Regions from separate parts of the Homo sapiens genome. Here region 1 is linked to region 2. Evidence: promoter capture Hi-C in human tissues and cell types (Jung and others, 2019). All regions are on one chromosome and are shown on one strand. Each heading gives the region's core, a stretch centred on a gene start or on the middle of the fragment in contact. The rest is flanking DNA. Distances are from core to core; before and after follow the strand shown.

What was found. Contacts are between HindIII fragments. The study calls those that stand out against the background at their distance.
Region 1: a fragment that was not itself captured here is called in contact with the fragment with the promoter of WDR73 in region 2 in 2 of the 25 tissues and cell types used here (adrenal gland and hippocampus).

Annotation. Positions count from the first base shown.
Region 1 is chr15:85,063,186-85,067,625 of GRCh38, forward strand. PDE8A (phosphodiesterase 8A) reads left to right here. Exons shown (of 22, transcript NM_002605.3): 2 at 1,185-1,241; 3 at 3,829-4,019. Among named protein-coding and RNA genes, the nearest start is that of PDE8A, 84 kb to the left of the region's middle. The HindIII fragment of the contact is 4,507 bases long and covers 1-3,660 here.
Region 2 is chr15:84,652,878-84,656,924 of GRCh38, forward strand. WDR73 (WD repeat domain 73) reads right to left here and starts at 1,406. Exons shown (of 8, transcript NM_032856.5): 1 at 1,357-1,406; 2 at 755-822. The coding sequence starts at 1,397. NMB (neuromedin B) reads right to left here. Exons shown (of 3, transcript NM_021077.4): 3 at 2,255-2,532. The coding sequence ends at 2,497. RefSeq lists enhancers at 759-1,726, 1,153-1,392. The HindIII fragment of the contact is 11,541 bases long and covers 1-4,047 here.

The sequences.
Region 1 (4,440 bases), core at 157-2,656, 410 kb after region 2:
ATGGTTAAAAATATATGTGGATTTTTCTCCCATCACTAAGCAAACTTCGTAATGTGTTTACTAGAATAGGTCACTGTTTGAGGGGAGAGATTGGAGGAGGGCAGTCAGTTGGGAAACATTTTGTAGGAAGTCTTATGGATCTAGTTCTTCTGTTGCTGTGACGAATCATACCATCACACAGAGGCCCAGATTGGGATCTCATCAACACCTACAGAGTCACTGGGCAAATTACAAAATGTGTCTCTTCCCCTGGGTAGCAGCCCAGTGCCAGAATTCATCACCTGGAGCTGGTTTTCAGTCCCACCTTCTCCCTTCCTTGGGCCCCTTTGTGTTGTATACAGGCTATTCAAATCTTCTGGTGGTCCTGAGTTTACAGCACAGTGTATGGAGCTAAACAAACCTGGGTGGAATCCCAGCACTACCACTTGCTGTGTGGTCTTAATGCAGGGTACTTAGAACTTCAGTTTTCTAGCTATAAACTCTCACCACATTACTATCAGATTCAGTGAAATAACATGTGCAGCCCTTAGCACAGTAACCAGAACACACTAAGTCTTCCATTGGTGCTGTGATTGTTATTACTCACTGGGGTTTGGTTATGATATTACATTTATCTTTGATTTAGCATTACATTCTCAAATGGATAAGTACTTACAGTAAGTGCTATTATGCTCCTCTGTAAAATAGAAAGTGTCAACCATTTTTCAATGACATTCCATGGTTCTGACTGCTGGATTGCATTATTCATGTGCCATTTGGGTGTAAGATTTCATTGTCCATCAGGAAAAAAATGGAAATAGGCACAGAGGGAATCAGCGTTTATTTAGTATCTATTATTGGGGGGCTCTCTATATTGTCATCTCATTTGGCCTTTAACAAATGAGAAGTTGAGGCTGAGGAAGATTAATTCACTTAAAGTCACATGTAGCTAGTAAAAGGCAAAGCCAGAATCACATTCATTTTATTTGTTCATTTTATTTCTCCTTTCCTGCTCCCCACTTTTCCTGGGGGCTATAAGGAGATCCTTAGGATTCCTCATAATCATTTCATTTATCTACTATTTACTTTATTTGCCTCTAGAATAGAAATTTTGCTTTCATTTTTGGCACTGTTTAGAGAGAGAAAAAGTTAAGCTTCTCTTTCTCCGTTGTCTTTTCATTTTTAAGCCAATCTCTTTCTTACAGGTAGCAGTAGCTGATGTGCAGTTTGGCCCCATGAGATTTCATCAAGATCAACTTCAGGTAATAATGAACGATGCTGTATTTTTCACATGCTGATTTTCTTTAAAAAGGGTGGAGGTGGAGCTAAATTTACACATTTAAAATAGTCTTTCATTTAGATAATAGTGTTTGGACCAATGTTAAATTCCCTGAACTCTGTAACAGTATTATAGTTATATAAGAGAATATCCTGTTCTTAGAAATACACATTGTGGTGTTTAGAGATGAAGAAGTGTTTGTAGCCTACTTTCATTGGTTCAGCAATAGGTCAGGCACGGTGGCTCATGCCTATAATCCCAGCACTTTGGGAGGCTGAGGCAGTAGGATCTCTTGAGCTTGAGGAGTCCTTGAGGAGTTTGAAACCAGCCTGGGCAACATAGGGAGACCCAGTTTCTGCAACAACAGCAACAATAAATTAGATGGACATGGGGGTGTGTGTGCCTGTGGTCCCAGCTACTTGGAAGGCTGAGATGGGAGAATCACCTGAGCCCGGGAGGTCAAGGCTGCAGTGAGTCATGATCACACCATTGCACTGCAGCCTGGGCAACAGAGTGAGACCCTGTCTCAAACAAACAAAAGAAAAAAAATTGGTTCAGCAATAAATAAAAAATGTGTATAATTGTATGTATGTACATGTATGTGTTTAGAGAGAGAGAGAAAGCAAAGCAAAGGTGGCAAAATGTTAATTGATGAATGTAGAGAAAGGGCATGTTTAGTGTTCATTTTCATTCACGTTTCTGTAGATTTGAAATTTTCCAATATAAAAAGTAAAAAGATTGTCTTTTCAATGTTGCTGAATCAGCTCTGTCAGAGAGAAGATATCTGTAATTTATCTAATTCAAAATATGAGACAGAAAACAACCAATTGATGAACAATGAGATCACATGGACACAGGAAGGGGAATATCACACTCTGGGGACTGTGGTGGGGAGGGGGGAGGGGGGAGGGATAGCATTGGGAGATATACCTAATGCTAGATGACGAGTTAGTGGGTGCAGCGCACCAGCATGGCACATGTATACATATGTAACTAACCTGCACAATGTGCACATGTACCCTAAAACTTAAAGTATAATTAAAAAAAAAAAAAAGAAAACAACCAATTGAAATTCAGCGAAGTTATCCATGCTCCCCGCACATGAACATGTTTCATTCACTATTACATTTAAAAATATATGAGAAGTGCTGACAGAAATGTGTGCTCTTAGTTCTTTGCATGTATGGTCTTTGTGTAGTTGAGTAAACTCGGAAGAAATAAGCCTTAGGAGGGTTTCTGATAGCTTTGCAGTCTGTTTCACAGGCTGCCCATCTCCTCCTTACCACTGTTGCCCCATTTTCAGTCTGCTTCTGAAGGGATGGAGCACGGGTGCTCCTGAACCAGATTGGGAGTGGGAATAGCAGGGAGAGAGAGGGAAGGAGGCTGGCTGGATAAGGAAGACGCTATGGATACAGGCCTCGCTTGCTCCAGGCCAGGACTGACGTGATTGGGGCAGCCAGCCACTGTCCTGGGCAGAGGCACAGATGCTACCTCTTGCACCTGGTGACTGTGTCACTTAACTGATAGGCTTTGAAGTGTCACATTTTGGTCTACTTTAAATCTTTCTTCTTTTAATCAAAGCAATTTTTTTTTTAACTTGGAGGAATTACATAAAATCTTGAGTCAAACATTTCAATACATTATTTATAGGATTAAGTATTCTAATAATTTCACCAAGATATTAGCATTCACCATCTGAGAACTTACCCAGTTAACTTTCTTTCAGCTAAAATAAATATTAATGTGTTTTAATTCTTTTAGTTTCAAGATAAAATGCTTAACTAAATCTTTGTTGAGTTCTGCCAGTGGGTTTCTTAGCAAAAAAGTAGGCATATGGCCAGGTGCAGTGGCTCACACCTGCAATCCCAGCACTTTGGGAGGCCACAGCAGGTGGATCACTTGAGTCCAGGAGTTCTAGACTAGCCTGGGCAACATGGAGGGACCCCATCTCTACTGAAAATACAAAAATTAGCCGGGCATGTGGTGGCGCACACCTGTAATCTCCCAGCCACTGGGGGCTCTGAGGTACAAGAACACTGGAACCCTGGAGGTGGAGGTTGCAGTGAGCTGACATCACACCACTGTACACCAGCCCATGCAACAGAGGAAGACCCTGTTGCCCACCCACCATCCCCCCAAAACACACACACACACACACACACACACACACACACACACACACACACACACACACACACAGAAATGACGATTCTGACCAGGCGCGGTGGCTCACGCCTGTAATCCCAACACTTTGGGAGGCTGAGGTGGGAGGATTACTTGAAGCCAGGAGTTCGAAATCAGCCTGGCCAACATGGCAAAACCCCGTCTCTACTAAAAATACAAAAATTAGCTGGGCATGGTGGCATGTGCCTGTGGCCCAACTACTCGGCAGGGCTGAGGTGGGAGAATCACTTGAACCTGGGAGGCAGAGGTTGCAGTGAGCCAAGATCATGCCATTACACTCCAGCCTGAGCAACAGAGCAAGACTCTGTCTCAAGAAAAAAAAAGTGTAAGAAATGACAATTCTAACATCTTTTTTTAAAAAAAGTGTTTGTGCTCTTTTGATTCAGGTACTTTTAGTGTTTACCAAAGAAGATAACCAATGTAATGGATTCTGCAGGGCATGTGAAAAAGCAGGGTTTAAGTGTACAGTTACCAAGGAGGCTCAGGCTGTCCTTGCCTGTTTCCTGGACAAACATCATGACATTATCATCATAGACCACAGAAATCCTCGACAGCTGGATGCAGAGGCACTGTGCAGGTAAGCCCAAGACTCGGGCCTAAATAGTCCCATTGGCCTTTCTGACAATACATGCAGCCTAGAAATAGATTAAATTAGACTCACTCTCTTTTAAGTTGCTTTCCATGCATGTGAAATAAACAAAATATTAGAACCTCACTATTTATAGGACTGATGCATATCTCTTTTGTTTTGTCTTGCTTCACTTTACTTGAAACAGTAAGAAAATGTGAATAATAAGAATTATTAAGGGTCAAAGTGAAACCCAAAATGTAATTAACCACAAGTATCACTTGTATATTAGTGCAGTAAGAATTATAATTTTTCAGATTGTTTTCAAAGTTTTAAAAATTTTGAAAATTGTCTTTTAATGTTCGATGAATGGGCTTTATTTATTATACTTGCACCTTGTCAATATTATGAGAGAATTCTCTGTAGTGAC
Region 2 (4,047 bases), core at 156-2,655:
TACATTCCTTCACTGTGCAGCCTTGTATGGAGGAATTGAGTACCTGGTTGTGTCTTTTTCAGACAAGGTCTCGCTGTGTCAGCCAGGCTGGAGTGCAGTGGTCCGATCACAGCTCACTGCAGCCTCAACCTGCCAGGCTCAAGTGATCCTCCCACCACAGCCTTCAGAGTAGCTGGGATTATAGGCGTGAGCCACCATGCTCGGCTAATTTTTGTATTTTTTGTAGAGACAGGGTTTCCTTGCTTAGGTTAGTCTCAAATTCCTGGGATCAAGCAATCTGCCCGCTGCCTCAGCCTCCTGAAGTGCCCAGCCTGAAGACTTTTTTTGTTAGCCACGCTGGAATACAGTGTCGTGATCTCAGCTCACTGCAACCTCCACCTCCTGGGTTCAAGTGATTCTCCTGCCTCAGCCTCCCCAGTAGCTGCTGGTACACAGGTGTGCACCACCTCGTCCGGCTAATTTTTGTATTTTCAGTAGAGACGGGGTTTCACCATGTTGGCCAGACTGGTCTCGAACTCCTGACCTCAGGTGATCCGCCTGCCTCGGCCTCCCAAAGTGCTGGGATTACAGGCGTGAACCACTGCTCCCGGTCAGAGATCTTAATAAGAGGAATATTAGTGCTGATGGGGCATCAAATTGCTACAAGTGACTCTCAGGTGCCCAGAAGAGTGGGTTGGGTCCCTCTAGGCTTAGCTCCTGAAACCCAGCTCAGGAGTGAGATTCCCTCTCCTTCAGGGCTAGAAAGGTATACCACCTTTGTCATCAATCCATTCAAGGACTCGAGTGGCTCCTGACAGGTCGAATGCATAGAAATCCTGGTACCTGCACAAAAGGGACACAGAATCACACGATGCACAGCACTTCACAGCTCAAAGAACTCCAAGATGGCAGCCGCATGGTTCAGTGGCCCAAACTCTGGAGTCAGGCAGACGTGGGACTGAGTTTACTTCCCATTTTACTCCCTGTTTCTGGGACCAGGCCAGTCCCTTGATGTCCCTGAGCCTCGGTCCTCATGTGTGGACGTCCCAGGGTACCCAGATTTCCCAAGGTTGACGTGAGGAATCAATGAGATCATCTGTGTTCTGAGCTGAACTCAGAGGCTGGCGCAAACTAACTGGGCACTGCGTCTTCACAAGCGCGGCTCTTACTAGTAATCTCACAACGCGCGCACGCAGGAAGGAGCCATTTCCTAGAGATGGGGGCCTAGGCCCAGGCGGAGTCCTCCACGGTGGCGAGCCCCGAGGCCACAGCTGGCCCACTCTGCACCAGGATCCCCAACGTGCCTCCACCCACACCCATCCGCCCGCCAGGCAAGCTCCAGGCCCAGCTCCCATGTCCCAGCCCCGTACGATTTACAAGCGCAAGGATTCCACCAGCCAGTCGTCCCCAGGATCCATGGCAACGACCGCTTCCGGCGTCTCACTTCCGCCTGCGAGCCTTCGGGGGCCGCGCGGCTCTCGCGAGATGTGGGCAGGGCCTCCCGTTAGGGGCGGGGTTAACAGGCTGAGCTGCGGCCCGGCATGGGTGGGTTACGGGTTTTCTCCGCGAAAGCTCCGGGAAAAGTGACCTGAAATCGGGACTTTCCCGCTGTCAGCTCCAAGCAGGACCTGAGGACCAAATGATCGCCCGTTTTAGGGCCAGGTGTTTGCAGCCCAAGAGAGGGGCAATGAATGCTCCAAGGCCAGAAATAATACAGGACCGCCCGGTTAAATTCGAATTTCAGAAAAACGGTGAATAATTTCTTTCTTACGAGTATGTTCATGCAATATTTGGTACATTTTATTAGATAAAATTATTGTTTATCTGAAATTCGAATTTAACTGGGTGTCCAGTATTTTTATTTGCTAACGCTGGCAACCCTTCTGACGGCCAGAGAAGAGAGGAAGCGGCCGGCAGGGTCTGGATCCCAACTCGGCGCTCCCCTCCAAGTCCGGCGGGGGTATTGAGTAAAGCCCGGCAGTGTAGTGTCTGCAGCCCCCTTTTACTAGCGAGGAAACTAGTGACACTTGCCTGCGCCAGTAGGTGGCAGAGATGAGAGTAGAACCCCGCGCCTGGCACGAAGCCTGGCATGCAACAGGCGTTATTTGCTTGCTGAATGAATGGGTAGGAGGCCAGAGTCAGTGCCAGGCTGGTGCCATGGCATGGGGTATTCTGGACTTTTTGAGCCAGCCCCATCTCACTGAACACTCTGCCCTCCAGCCCCCTTTTCCTCCCATCCCCTAAAAGACGGGTGAAAGGAGAGGACCAGGCATTGTATGTAAAGAGCAAGGTTTTATTCACCAATTCAACAGGGAAGCAGGAAATACAGCAGGAACATAATCTGTGTCTGCATCAGCGATATTTCTGGTGACCCAGCCAGAAATCACAGTAATGGAGTAACAGAGATTTGAGCTCAGGATTTACATCCAGATGGGGCCATCAACAGGGTCCCATTCAGCACCTTCCCTGGGTGGGCACAATCTAAGCCACGCTGTTGTGTCTGCCCCATTATTGGTGTCATTTCTGCAGTATTTGTACCAGCAGCCTCCTGTACTGAAGAGAAACATACAGAAGAATTGAGCCAGGGAGGGGCTCCTGATAAAGATAGGGGCATCCTGCCATTCCTAAGTGCCAGATGTCTGCAGAGGTGGGCACCAGCAGGCTGTCAGCTGAGGCAGGCCCCAGAGCACCCTGAATTGCCTTGGAGGGGTCGGGGCAGTAGTTTTCTCAGAACACAGCCCCAACCACCCAGGGTGGTCATGACAGTCAAAGAAGATCGTGGAAGAAAATCCAAATACAGTGCTTGGTGCTGGGCTAGTGTCAGCGTCCTCACTCCCCCACCCCAGCTCTGCCCCAGACCTCACTCTGAAGCCCCAGACGTAGGCACTGCTGCTTCTGAGATTCTCTAGTTGGTCTGCATGTGTCAGAGCTTCAAAACCAAGGGCATTAGAGGTGACATTGTTTCCCTTCAGACTCAGCCAGCCCAAGCTCCTAGGCCTTACATCTGAGGTCCTCAGGGGCTGCTGGTTCTGTGCCTCAGGAAGTCAGGGATGTTGGTTGAGGCTGGGTTGGACCTTTTCTAGGGAATGCCTCTCCCTTCAAAATGCACACACTATATGCTAGGCACACTGGGGGATATGAAGGCGAGTCTACAACAGGTGCCGCCAGGGAGCTCACAGACTGATAAGAGCTCGCATCTACTAAGGGCTGTCTATGAGCCAGGCACCATGCTGAGCATTTGACATAAATGGTCTCATTTAATGGGAGATGGGCCTTATTATCTTCATTTTATGGGTGAAGAATATTGAGGCTTTAGAGAAGTTAAGGGACATTTCTAAGGTCATACAGCTACTAAGTAGCTAGGTTATGAGCCCAGCACGTTGTAGTCAAAACCCACATTCTACCACATCACACTGCCTTCTGCACACAGCAGCAGGACCAGGGAGGGTGGTGTGCAGTAAGGACAGCACCAGGAGCAGGGAATGAAGGAGTTGCCACTCAGCGGGGCTATACCTTGAGGCTAGCTTGGCTCCAGCTTTGGAGTCTTGAATCCCATAGATCAGTGACTGACAACCAATAATGATTTGGGGCCCTCTCCCCCAGCAGACATCTGGTGATGTCTGGAGGTCTTTTCAGTTGTCACAACTTGATGGGGGGGAAAGATGCTACTGGCATCTAGTATGTAGAGACCAGGGATGCTGCCAAACATCCCATGATGCACACGTCAGCCCTCACAAGAAACAGTGATTCAGCCTAGAACGTCAAATGTACTGAAGTTGCTAAACCCTACCACTGGATACTGAGGCAGATGAGAGAATGGGAAGAGCTCCAGTCCAGGTGAACAAGGTCCAGACTCTGTCTTGGCTGCTGACTTCTCTTTCCCTCTCTGGGCCTCAGGGTCCCATTCCGGCCACAAGCATACACAGGACACAGCAAAGGTGGACTTGACTAATGCAGCAGGGAACAGCATGGGTGGGACAAGACTGTGTAGACTGGGGGAGAAAGGTCCTGCTCCAAAAGGCTGATGATCCCAGTCTGTTACTTTAGACTGGGTGATGAGTCAGGGGA